Linked DNA regions of Homo sapiens: regions 1 and 2 are each linked to region 3. Evidence: promoter capture Hi-C in 16 types of primary human blood cells and fetal thymus (Javierre and others, 2016). All regions are on one chromosome and are shown on one strand. The core of a region is centred on a gene start or on the middle of the fragment in contact, and the rest is flanking DNA. Distances in the headings are between cores, read along the strand shown.

Evidence for each region. The method cuts DNA at HindIII sites, captures the fragments that hold promoters and counts their contacts. A CHiCAGO score of 5 or more calls a contact.
Region 1: a contact is called between a fragment that was not itself captured here and the fragment with the promoter of OR52K1 in region 3, in 11 of 17 cell types (M2 macrophages, total CD8 T cells, non-activated CD4 T cells and 8 more). The highest score is 9.6, in M2 macrophages.
Region 2: a contact is called between a fragment that was not itself captured here and the fragment with the promoter of OR52K1 in region 3, in 2 of 17 cell types (M1 macrophages and M0 macrophages). The highest score is 5.6, in M1 macrophages.

What each region holds. Positions count from the first base shown.
Region 1 is chr11:4,199,235-4,203,518 of GRCh38, reverse strand. It overlaps LINC02749 (long intergenic non-protein coding RNA 2749), which reads right to left. Exons shown (of 2, transcript NR_047550.1): 2 at 866-1,260. Among named protein-coding and RNA genes, the nearest start is that of LINC02749, 14 kb to the right of the region's middle. The HindIII fragment of the contact is 821 bases long and covers 2,597-3,417 here.
Region 2 is chr11:4,132,841-4,136,637 of GRCh38, reverse strand. RRM1 (ribonucleotide reductase catalytic subunit M1) reads right to left here. Exons shown (of 19, transcript NM_001033.5): 17 at 2,980-3,075; 18 at 1,368-1,556. Among named protein-coding and RNA genes, the nearest start is that of RRM1, 40 kb to the right of the region's middle. The HindIII fragment of the contact is 635 bases long and covers 1,636-2,270 here.
Region 3 is chr11:4,480,706-4,484,560 of GRCh38, reverse strand. OR52K1 (olfactory receptor family 52 subfamily K member 1) reads right to left here and starts at 1,915. Exons shown (of 2, transcript NM_001005171.3): 1 at 1,385-1,915. The HindIII fragment of the contact is 19,878 bases long and covers 1-3,855 here.

The DNA of each region.
Region 1 (4,284 bases), core at 1,758-4,257, 280 kb after region 3:
TTATAGACCAATAAAACCTCACTGGATAATAGTTTAGCATTACAGATTTTTTTAAACCCTTTAACGTATATGCTTACATTTTACCCATCAATCCAAATCTGTCAGCTTATTCTCAAAAAATAACCATACAAGTTGTAAAATGTATATTAAAAGATAATGATCATGTCTGTTTTAATATGAATAAATTAAAAGAGCACATAAATACAAAATTATATTTAAAACTGGCTAACTTCGTTTTAGTACATCTATCTAATGGGCTGCATGAATACATTAGCAGCGTATGAAAGGAATATTTATTGATGTGGAAACATCTACTTCCTATATTACAGCAGGCAGTGTAAGCCTGATGTCTGCTTTGGTAGCATCTTAGTGGGGCACAGATTGTATGGAAACAGAAAGTTCATTTTAGCACAACAGCTATGGGTCAGGATTTTTTGTGGGCTGTTCTTGAGTAGAGTTAAACAGTTTTTGAGAAGCAAGCCAGAGTGTCTCTGAAGAGAACAGAGTGGTAGCTGTAGCAAGGATAGTCCTATGTCAGTGCTCACTCATGACACCCAGGTTGTGCTGAAAGGATTGTGATGACATTGTCAGAAGCATTCCATTGATGTGACATCAAGCTCCAGTTTTTACAGGACTGAAGGTTGGGATTTGTGGTGTAAGGCAAACTTAAGTACTAGAAAGGGCCTGTACTTCCTTCTGAAGTGTCTGAAGTGATACTTACTAGATTTTGTCAGTAATTAGTTAAATTCAGGGCAGTAGCTGTGGTTTGAAAAAGATGCACAAGGGAGTTTTGGTTTTTTCTTAAGTGGTAGAAGGAGATGACAGAGGTCAAAATTAATAAGACAAAGATCAAGTTGATCACATAAGCATTCTAGAAGGTGTTTTAATGTTTTAGAGGGTATCAAAGTGTGATAATGGAAAATAAAAAAGGTGCTGAAGAATACAAAAGTTAATCTTGTTCTGTCATCTTGAGCAGAAGCTACCAACTTCTGCAGTCAGCACTTTTGGAGGATTTCTAACAGCTCTCAGATTAGGAGCTCCTGGTGGGATGGATGCCCAGTGGTCAGGAAGGAGTGATGTGTGTCTCTGAAGTTGAGAAACATGAATCCAAGGATCAACACCTTGGAGTTCTACTGCTGTGTCAGTTAACAGAGGCTTAAGAGCAGTTTTTCTCTGGTGCCCTTTTCAGAAGACCAAATCCCCAGGTTACAGAGCATGCAGGGCCTGCACAGGTGGCTGTTGTAGAAATGCAGCGTTTACCTGTTGGTGATAAAGCTGGAGTTATTGTGAGTACCCTTCAGCAATGAATCATATCAGCTTGTACTCATAATGTAGAATCTAGGATTGCAAGTAGTGAGGAAGCCTGTTATGAATTCCAAAGGTGGCCACCTGTAGGTCCTGAAAATTGGTCTTACTTCCATCAACACCAATAGCACTCCTCAAGCCTTAGGAGTGTGAGGGTTTTGAGAGCTCTGATAATTATACTTTTAGAATTTTAGTTCTATCTTTTCCCTGAATTTTGTGGATGATAAAGGTCAGTAGAGATTCTGAGTAAAAAGTAAAGCATTGCAGGGTTCAGTAACAACAGTACCAGTGATATGTGTGTTCCTCTTAACTGCAAAATAAGTTGGGATTTTCCAAGTCAGAAATACAACAAAATTAAGCAAATTTGTTCCTACCACTATAGCTACCACTCTCCAGTAAGGTAAAACATCAACTAACCCTAAGAATAAACAACAATAATCAGAATGCACTCAGCACATTTGGAGACGTTCAAAGGGGCAGTGAGACTTCGGTTCCTGTCCATGACCTATCCTTAAAATCTTGCCAGGATTGTGTCATTGTCAGGTTGGACATATTTTGGAAATGTCTATGAAACCTCCTAAAATTACCCCCATCAATGTTGGTTCAATATCATGACAAATAAAAAAGAACAAGGTCATGTCCTTTGCAGGAACACGGATGGAGCTGGAGGCCATTATCCTTAGCAAACTAACACAGGAACAGAAAACCAAATACCACATGTTCTCACTTGTAAATGGGAGCTAAATTATAAGAACACATGGACACAGAGAGGGGAACAACAGACACTGAGGCCCGCCAGAAAGTGCAGGGTGGGAGGAGGGTGAGGATAAGACAAAATAACTAATGGATACCAGGCTTAATACCTGGGTGACAAAATAATCTGTACAACAACCCCTGTGGCATGAGTTGACCTATGTAGCAAACCTATACATATACCCCTGAACTTAAAATAAAAGTCAAAAAATAAAAAATAAAATAAAAATCATGGCAGATTTATCTCTTGTATTATGGGTAATATCATGAAGCACTTTTGCTAAATTCTACATTTATCATGGCCATTTCTTTAGGTAATGGAAAACTTCTCAGGGTTCCTTAATTTGCTATCCATTTTATAAGGATTCCTGTAACAGTCAGAAAATGTCCTTTTTTTTTAAAGCATTTCAAAATCATGGGCCAACCCAAAATCATACCCACCATCAGGACAAGTATTTGTTTTTTATCTTTTGTTGGCTGGCATGTCTGGACAAAGGCAATTTAGCCATCTGAACAGATTTCATTTCTTTGAGAAGCTTAAAGGTAAATTCAAGTCTGTGATAGTATAACATAATTGGCAACTTGTAGTTTTTCTTTTTAGGTATGAACCATCTACAAACAATTAAATGAGGGGTGTCCAAAAAATAAAATACTTGGGAATATACCTAACCAAGGAGGTGAAAAATCTCTAAAAGGAAAACTACAAAACACTGCTGAAAGAAATCATTGACAACACAAACAAATGGAAACACATCCCAAGATCATGGGTGGGTGGAATCAATATAGTGAAAATGACCATACTGCCAAAAGGGATCTACAGATTCAATGCAATTCCCATCAAAGTACCATCATCATTCTTCACAGAACTAGAAAAAATAATCCTAAAATTAATATGGAACAAAAAAAGACACCACATAGCCAAAGCAAGACTAAGCAAAAAGAATAAATCTGCAGGCATATTACCCAACTTCAAATTCTACTATAAAGCTATAGTTACCAAAACAGCATGGCACTGGTATAAAAATTGGCATGTAGACCAATGGAACAGAATAGAGAACGCAGAAATAAACTCAAATACTTAAAGCCAACTGATCCTTGACAAAGTAAACAAAAACATAAAGTGGGAAAAGGACACCATCTAGAAGAAAGAAACTGGATCCTCATCTCTCACCTTATACAAAAATCAACTCAAGATGGATCAGAGACTTAAATCTAAGACTTGGAACTATAAAAATTATAAAAGATAACATCAGTAAAACTCTTCTAGACATTGGCTTAGGCAAAGAGTTCATGAACAAGAACCCAAAAGCAAGTGCAATAAAAACAAAAATAGATGGGACCTAATTAAACTAAAAAGCTTCTGCACAGCAAAAGAAATAATCAGCAGAGTAAACAGACAACCCACAGGACGGGAGAAAGTATTTGCAAACTATGCATCATACAAAGGACTAATATCCAGAATCGACAAGGAATTCAAACAAATCAGCAAGAAAAAAAAAATAATCCCATCAAAAAGTGGGCAAAGGACATGAATAGACAATTCTCAAAAGAAGATGTACAAATGGCCAACAAACATATGAAAACTGCTCAACATCACTAATCATCAGGGAACTGCAAATTAAAACCACAATGAGATACCCCCTTACTCCTGCAAGAATGGCCATAATAAAAAAATCAAAAAAACCGTAGATGTTAGTGTGGATACAGTGAACAGGGAACACTTCTACACTGCTGGTGGGAATGTAAACTAGTACAACCAGTATGGAAAACAGTATGGAGATTCCTCAAAGAACTAACAGTACAACTACCATTTGATCCAGCAATCCCACTATTGAGTATCTACCCAGAGGAAAAGAGTTCATTATATGAAAAAGACACTTGCACATATGTTTATAGCAAAACAATTTGCAATTGCAAAAATATGGGGCCAGCCTAAATGCCCATCAACCAAAAAGTGGATTTTAAAAATGTAGTGTGTGTATACATATATATATCACATTTATATACACATATATATGTGATATATATGTGAGATATATATATATATATATAGTGAAATACTACTCAACCATTAAAAGGAACAAAATAATGGCATTTGCAGCAACTTGTATGGAATTGGAGACCATTATTCTAAGTGAAGAAATTCAGGAATGGAAAACCAAATATTGTAGTTCTCATTTATAAGTGAGAGCTAAGCTACAAGGACGCAAAAGTGTAAGAATGATA
Region 2 (3,797 bases), core at 704-3,203, 350 kb after region 3:
TGCAGTGAGCCAAGACTGTATCATTGCACTCCAGCCTGGGCAACAGAGCGAGACTCCGTCTAAAAAAGTATAAAATAAAATAAAACAATAATATTAAAATAAAATAAAATACATTCCTGGCCAGGCACAGTGGCTCACACCTGTAATTCGAGCACTTTGGGAGGCCGAGGCAGGTGAATTGCTTGAGGCCAGGAGTTTGAGACCAGCCTGGCCAACATGGCAAAACCCCATCTCTAATAAAAATACAAAAATTAGCCAGGTGTGTTGGCACACACCTGTGATCCTAGCTACTCAGGAGGCTAAGACATGAGAATCACTTGAACCCAGGACAGAGGTTGCAGTGAGCCAAGATCATGCCGCTGTACTCCAGCCGGGGCAACAGAGTGAGTCTCTGTCTCAAAATACATACATACATACATAAAATAAAATACATTCCCATGAACCAGATCAAACTTTTTTTAAACTTGGAATTCTATCTCCTCTAGGAGTACTCTCAAAAATGCTTTGTGAGTCAGACAGAAATATCCTGTTCTTTTCACTCCTAAAACAGGCTTATCTCTTTGGAAAGGTCAAACATTTTTATTCTTTTGTCTTTGTTTTTATGCATATGACTTCCAGGTTTGCCCAAGACAATATGTCTGCCTTAGGTTATAACTGTTTAGAGAGCTAGACTGTGTCTCTGTGTAACAACAGACTATAAGACTTCAAAGATAAAGATCATCATCTTCTATTCAGTATCCTCAGTCCTGGCACATACTAGATGTTCAATAAATGTTAAATTAAAAAACAAATTTATAATTCTACTTAAATACCCAATACATTATCAGGGAATAAGAACATAATCCAAAATCACCAGACTTTACAGCTGGCAACGACTAGCTAAGTAAGCTGGCTTTCACTTTATAAAGTGAGAAAACAATGGATGTTTTTGAATAGCGGGTTGACGTGTGCAAAGTTTTATCTGAGGAATGGTGGTAATGCACACAAAATGGCTGGGAGCAGAGATCCTAGAAGCAATAAGGTCAGTTTAGAATAACAGCAGCAGAAAAGGAAGGAAGATATTTAAGAAATAATACAAAGGAACAATCAACACAACTTGGTAATTGTACGGACAGTAAAGGAAGGAAAGCATCACAGGTAACTACAAGGTTTCAAACCTAAGAAGGAAATAAACCTAACAGAAACAAGAAAATCCAAGGCAAGACCCTGTTCTGGTACAAAAACCATGGGTTGGTTTTAACGTTCTGGATTTGAACTTAAAGAACTTCTAGGTGATAATATTTAATAGGTGGCTAAAACATAAAATCATTCCAATGCCAAAATATCTCAAGCTGGCAATTAAGTACTCCTTGATATTCTCTACCAACCTGCTTCCAGCCGTAGAAGTGCATACTAGTGAGTTTGCCATAGTTAGGCTCAGCAATGTGGATGTTCAAAGATTGGCTTTGATCAATGAAAGCACCTCTCTCAGCTGCCATCTTGAGAACAGTTTTCTGAGAGATTTCCCACACAGTTTTATAAAGTTGCTTCAGGTCATCAGGAATTTCTGGTATGCTCTAAAGAAGGAAAACCCAATGTTTACTTTACTCCAGTTAAAGAAAGCAGTGTATGATTAATAGAATAGTGACACAAGCTTTGATCTTCATTTTACTTCCTGCCAGATCTGACCTTACCATTCAGTATCATATGATATGATCCTTATCAAGTTTACCAAGACTATTTAGAAAGTTGAACAAAACCCCCATCTAACCAACCAAATATCAATCTGGTGATAGTAATTTCAGCATCCCTTTTTTGTTGGTCATAAACCAATTTTTTAATTTTTTAATTGATTTATGACCCAAACATTCATTCTTCTAGAGGCACTTAAAGAAAGGAAAAGTCAGAGCTAAGCAGCAATAAATGACCCTTGAGTTTTGCAGAAAACACAAAAAATAAGGGCTGTAATTCACAGGGACCAAGGGAAGCAATGAGATAAAACCCTTTAAATAAGCTAGGATTTCAAACTCCCTTTGGAATCCAAAATCAGGTTTTCTTAGGCCTAGGGTTAACTTTCATTAAAACACACAGACTGGCTAATGCTACAGTTTCTGTCATTAAATATGGAACTGTTATAGGACTCTTCATCTGTGTTGCTAAGCAGACCAACATTTAGCCAGACACCTCTATCTGCAAATAAATGCCTCTTGACTCTTAGTTGCAAATATTTACACGATTTGTGACTCTGTCTTTTGGACTATCAGTCGTCAACCATGATTTTTAATTAAGCTTGACTCTCTTAATTTCAGTCTTTCTATCTATGATCCCCCAAATTTTGATATACTTTGGAATCACCAAAAGAATCTTTAAAAATTATTGATGTCTGAGGCCAGGCACGGTGGCTCATGCATGTAATCCTAGCACCCTGGGAGGCCAAGGCAGGCGGATCACCTGAGGTCAGGAGCCTGGCCAATATGGTGAAACCCTGTCTCTACTAAAAATACAAAAAACAGCCGGGCGTGGTGGCAGGCACCTGTAATCCCAGCTACTTGGGAGGCTGAGGCAGGAGAATCGCTTGAACCTAGGAGGCAGAGGTTGCAGTGAGCCATGATTCCACCACTGCACTCCAGCCTGGGCGACAGAGACTTCGTCTCAAAAAAAAAAAAAAAAAAAAAAAATTGATGTCTGGTTCCTGTTCCTAGACATTTAATTGGTAAGGAATGCAACCTAAGCTTCAGGATTTTAAAAGCTCCCCAGTTGATTCTAAGATGCAGAAAAATTGAGAACTACTTTTTTATATTATTGCATAAAAACAAGATGGTAAGGGTTATGTAAAGATGTGTACAATCCTAGCACAACAATGCAGAGGTGAACAGAGCTACACAAGCAAAACCTAGATGAACACAATGAAGTCATTCTCTCCATTGTCTAGCATGAGTGAGGAGGTACCACAATGTCCAACTCAGCCCCTGCAGAGCACACTTCATTTTCATTCTATACCTGAATAGAGCCATTGCATGCAATAATCTGGTTTTTCATCTCTTCATGCCATAGGCCCCGCTCGGTAAGATCTTTCAATAAGTGAGGATTTACAATCTGAATGGAAAAGCAGAAAATGTATGAAGAAATAAATAACAGTGACTGCTTAGAAAAGACTACAGCTTTGAAGCTTAAACTAAAATCACTTAAGAGTTATTTAATGCTAGATTGCTTGGTAAATTCTATCTTTTATAAAGACGAGACATCAATGCCACCACACGAAAGCTATATTCCTTTAAGATCTTGACATCTGTTATTCAAGAAACAATATAATTAGCCAGGCATGGTGGCGCAGCATGCCTGTAATCCCAGCTACTCAGGAGGCTGAGGCATGAGAATTGCTTGAACCCAGGAGGCAGAGGCTGCAGTGAGCCAAGATCATGCCACTGCACTCCAGCCTGGGTGACAAAGTGAGACATTTTCTCAAAAACAGTATCGACAACAAAAACATTGTGGTGTGGTAATCGTTATATAATATATACACATATCTAATCATTACACTGTATACCTTGGTTTTATACACAATTTTTATTGTCAATTATACCTTAATAAAGCTGAAAAAATATTTTCATTAAAAAAGAAACATATGGCGTTTGCAAAAGTGAAAAGAATAGCGCCTAAGATGGGTAAATCTATAAATACTTAGGTTAAAAAAATTGGAAACGTATCCTTCTCGAACTTTACAGAACTTTACTTCAAGATATCTGGAAATTCACAAATAGTCTTTTAAATTGAGGTTCTCAACCCTAGCTACACATAAGAATTACCTGGGAACCTTA
Region 3 (3,855 bases), core at 666-3,165:
TCAAACCTGCCATGCCTGAGGCAGAAATCATGACTACTTCTCTTCTTGTGCTGCCCATATCTCAGAACGTAACATCCTGCCCAACCAGTTGCTCAACCTAGAATCAAGTCATCCTGGATTCTTCTCTTTTCTTCCTGCATCATATTTAATCATCAGCAAGCACACTGGATCATCCTACATAGTAAATCTCCACGTTGCCCATTGCGTTTCCAACACTTCCACCCTTCCAACACCATCACCCTTGTTCAAGCCACAGCATCTCCCAGCAACTACTGCTACAAAAGAATCCTAACAAGTACACAAAGTTCCACTTTGTTCTCCAATATTTATCCTTCAACAATTACCCACCATATCATGAAGTGAAGGGACTGGAGTTAAGAAACTCTACCTATTTTCCTTCTGTAAACCCAGCCTCTAACATACATAGGTGTGGAACATTTCACTAAATAAAACAGACTACTAGATTATTGGAAGACATATTTCTCAGAATACTACTCCCCTCATGTGATTTAAGCTCAGAATTTGGGTTATCTTCTCATTTAAAATGCATCCAGAATGGAGGTTCTAAGCATCCCGATTACAATACTTTGTTACCTGCATCAGAATAAAATTCTCTTCTTAATGGAAAATACTATTTTAAATATTCATAATGTTTGTGCATTTTTGTCAGGAACAAGCTCTTATGACAACAGACATTTTTATTTTCAAGTACATATCAGTACCTAGAAACATGCCTGGCGTCTAAGAAACTCTTCTAAAATACTGTGAAATAATCCCACAAACCTGCTGCATCTTTACCTTATCTCAATATGTATTTTCCACAAAACCCACATGTTTTACTTTGAGTCTCCATGTCCCCCTAGATTCCTCCATTCAACTTTTAAACATCACTAACCACCCTGTGAGCTGTCTACCCATCTTCATACAAGAAAAAAAGGCATCTCTTCTATCAGATTTCTTCCTGAAAAGACAGGGTGTCTAATAGTTCATAAATCTTACTTCCTTTGAAGTTCATCTAAAATCAACTCCTCAGAATGAAGTGCTCTGAGTAGGAGTGTGAATGGAGCCAGTCTTCTTCCCCTAATATCCAGAAACTAAGACCTCCTCTGTAGTGCAAGTTTTGTCCAGACTGTTCATTGTTTTCAGAACTAAGATGTCCATGCTCAAAGGATTTATCTTCTATTTCTCCTTAAAAAAGGCCTCTGTACCCAGAATGGACTCAATTAATACTGAATCTATTTGGTTGCCTATACCTTTATCTTAAAAGGATATCAGAATGACATATCTGAAAAACTTAGAACCAGACAAGGAAGGATAATCACATAATCAAGATACTTCAGGACTGCTTCTGGTAGAAGAACCTCAAAGATAAGGTATTTCTTACCTTTCCCTGCCATCTTTCTAGTTCAGGCCTCGTTTTCTTCCTCTTGACTAATGCAGAAGCCCTTTAACTGGGATGGGGCATTTGCCAGGGGTTAGAAAAAGCAATGACAGGAGGTGAGAAGTGACAGATCCAAACTGGAATAATCAACTAAGACTTCTTGGAGATGGCCCACAGTGTTTGGCATAGGACGGAAGCAGGCATCCTCTGTGGTGGGGAGAGCATCTGGAGTTTGTGTACCAAACAGTTGGGTGGGACTATCGAGACTTCTGTTCCCTCTATTGAAGGACCAGAGTAGAAGCAATAACAGGGTTGGAGAGCTGATGCCTAAGATCAGGAATGGCTATGGGAAGAAATTGACAGTGCCCCCACCTTCCAGCTCACTCCCACCTTCCTGCTCACCCCAATAACATCACTTGTTTTCTATTTCCCTAAGTTGCAGCTGTATCCACAGTCCTCAGTCTGACTTACAATCCTGGGCCCTTTTCATTAGCTTCATGCAGCACCAGTGCCGCCTTCCTCTTTCAGTCTAAGGAGTCTTAGAAGGAGGAAGCTGGGAAGCGAGCAGCTGGCTTTAATCCTCACCAACCTCTGCCCTTCTCCCAGAAGGCTGTGGAAGCAGAAACTGCTGCACTTGAGCAGAGTCCTCAGAGACATCTCTGGCCTCCTCTCTCTGGGTTGATGCAAGGGGACTTCCCCTGACCCAAGGGGACTGTATCCTTGTTTCCTACAACCCATGCCTCCTCCCCAGCTAGTGGCACTGAGTTGTGCCTACCAGGGGTCATGCCCTACTTGCCAGAGGCTGTGAGACTTTCAGGTGGAGCTGGCTTGTGTCTTGGTGTTTGCTGTGCCTCTCCTTACTCTTTATCCTTACAGTGTCTTCAAAGAAAGCCAGCCTCATCAGAAAATATACACTGCAGGCAACTCCTGTCAGAACTGACTTGAAAGGGCAGGGAGTCCAGCCTGACCAGGCCAAGGTCATCCATTAGGCATTTTATTTTGCATTCATATTTCATATTGGCCTGAGATATGCATTAATAACCAGCTCGTGAACTTGATCTGGCACCTGTCTGATCCCTGATCTATTTTTCTTATCTCTAAGGTAGAGATAACTTTTACAATATTTTCTAACTCACAAGGATAGGAGGATCTAAGTAGATAAACAAGAGGCCACTATGAATGTGATTCCTTATTAATAATTAGGAAATTACCAATCATCTATAAATGATAAAGAGTGATCTTTCTACCTACAGCTGACTTAATGTGTGCTATTTTTCAAGGACCTGAGAAGATGCTTTTCACTAGAGTTCTCCATGGATTTTGTCTACCCTAATTCCCCATAATTTTTAAAAGCAATCTCAGAACGCTGTAACTCAGTCATCTCACTCCCTTCCCACACAGGTACCCTGGAACTAACTTCCCCTTCTGTAATAGTTGGCCCTCAAGGGTGTGGACTCAGCACTCCTCCATGATAAGTCTGATCTTTTGGGATGCTGGGATAAAGTGGAATTCCTACATAGTTTTAACAATGTACAGCTAGGCCAAGGGGATACAGCCTGTATGAAAAGCACCTCACCAAAACCTAATATGGCAAAAGCCAGATAAAAGCCAGACAAGAGCCAGATAGAATAGACAGTGTTTTTGTGAACAAAGCACCTTAATTTGCCCCCAACTCCATTCTGAATGGGCAATCCTGACATCATAGGAGCAGGATAAGAAGCACATGGAGTGGGGGAGTGGGCAGTGGGGCCATTGGCTCAAACCATGCTGGAGATAACTGCTGGAATATTGGAACACTTAGACTGTTTAATTCATTGACATCCTCCCCACCCTATCTTTTCTTTTGTAAAATCTAGATTCTTTTACATTCATATGCATCTTTGTTTTGGTGTTCTTCATTCCCTCCAGGTTTTTCATGTTTCCATCTGGATCATTTTTTTTCTGCATGAAAAACTACTTTTATTTTTGCTTTTATTACAGGCCATATAGTGACACATTCCATCAACTTTTGCTCATTTGTAAAATTATCTTAGTCATCTTTGTTTGTGAAAGATGACTCACCTCCCGGGCCTCTGTCTAAAATTCTATTTCAATTTGAATAGGTTTTTAAATGGGCAATTCTTCTTTCATCCACTTTAGTATATTAATTGTATTCTGCCTTCACTTGCTTTTTTTGAAGTCAAGTATCTATTAATATCAGTCTTATTGTTGATCCTGTGAATATAATGTGCCCTACCCATACCTGGGTGCTGCTTTCTTTTTTTTTTTTTCCAGTTAGCTGTGATCACACAGAACATTGTAGGCCTTTGTATCAGTCTGTTCTCACACTGCTATGAAGAACTACCTGAGACTGGGTACTTTTATGGAGAAAAGAGGTTTGACTGACTCACAGTTCCTGCAGGCTGTACAGAAGCATGGCTGGGAGGCCTCAGGAAACTTAGTCATGGCAGAAGATGAAGGGGAAGCAAGCAGGT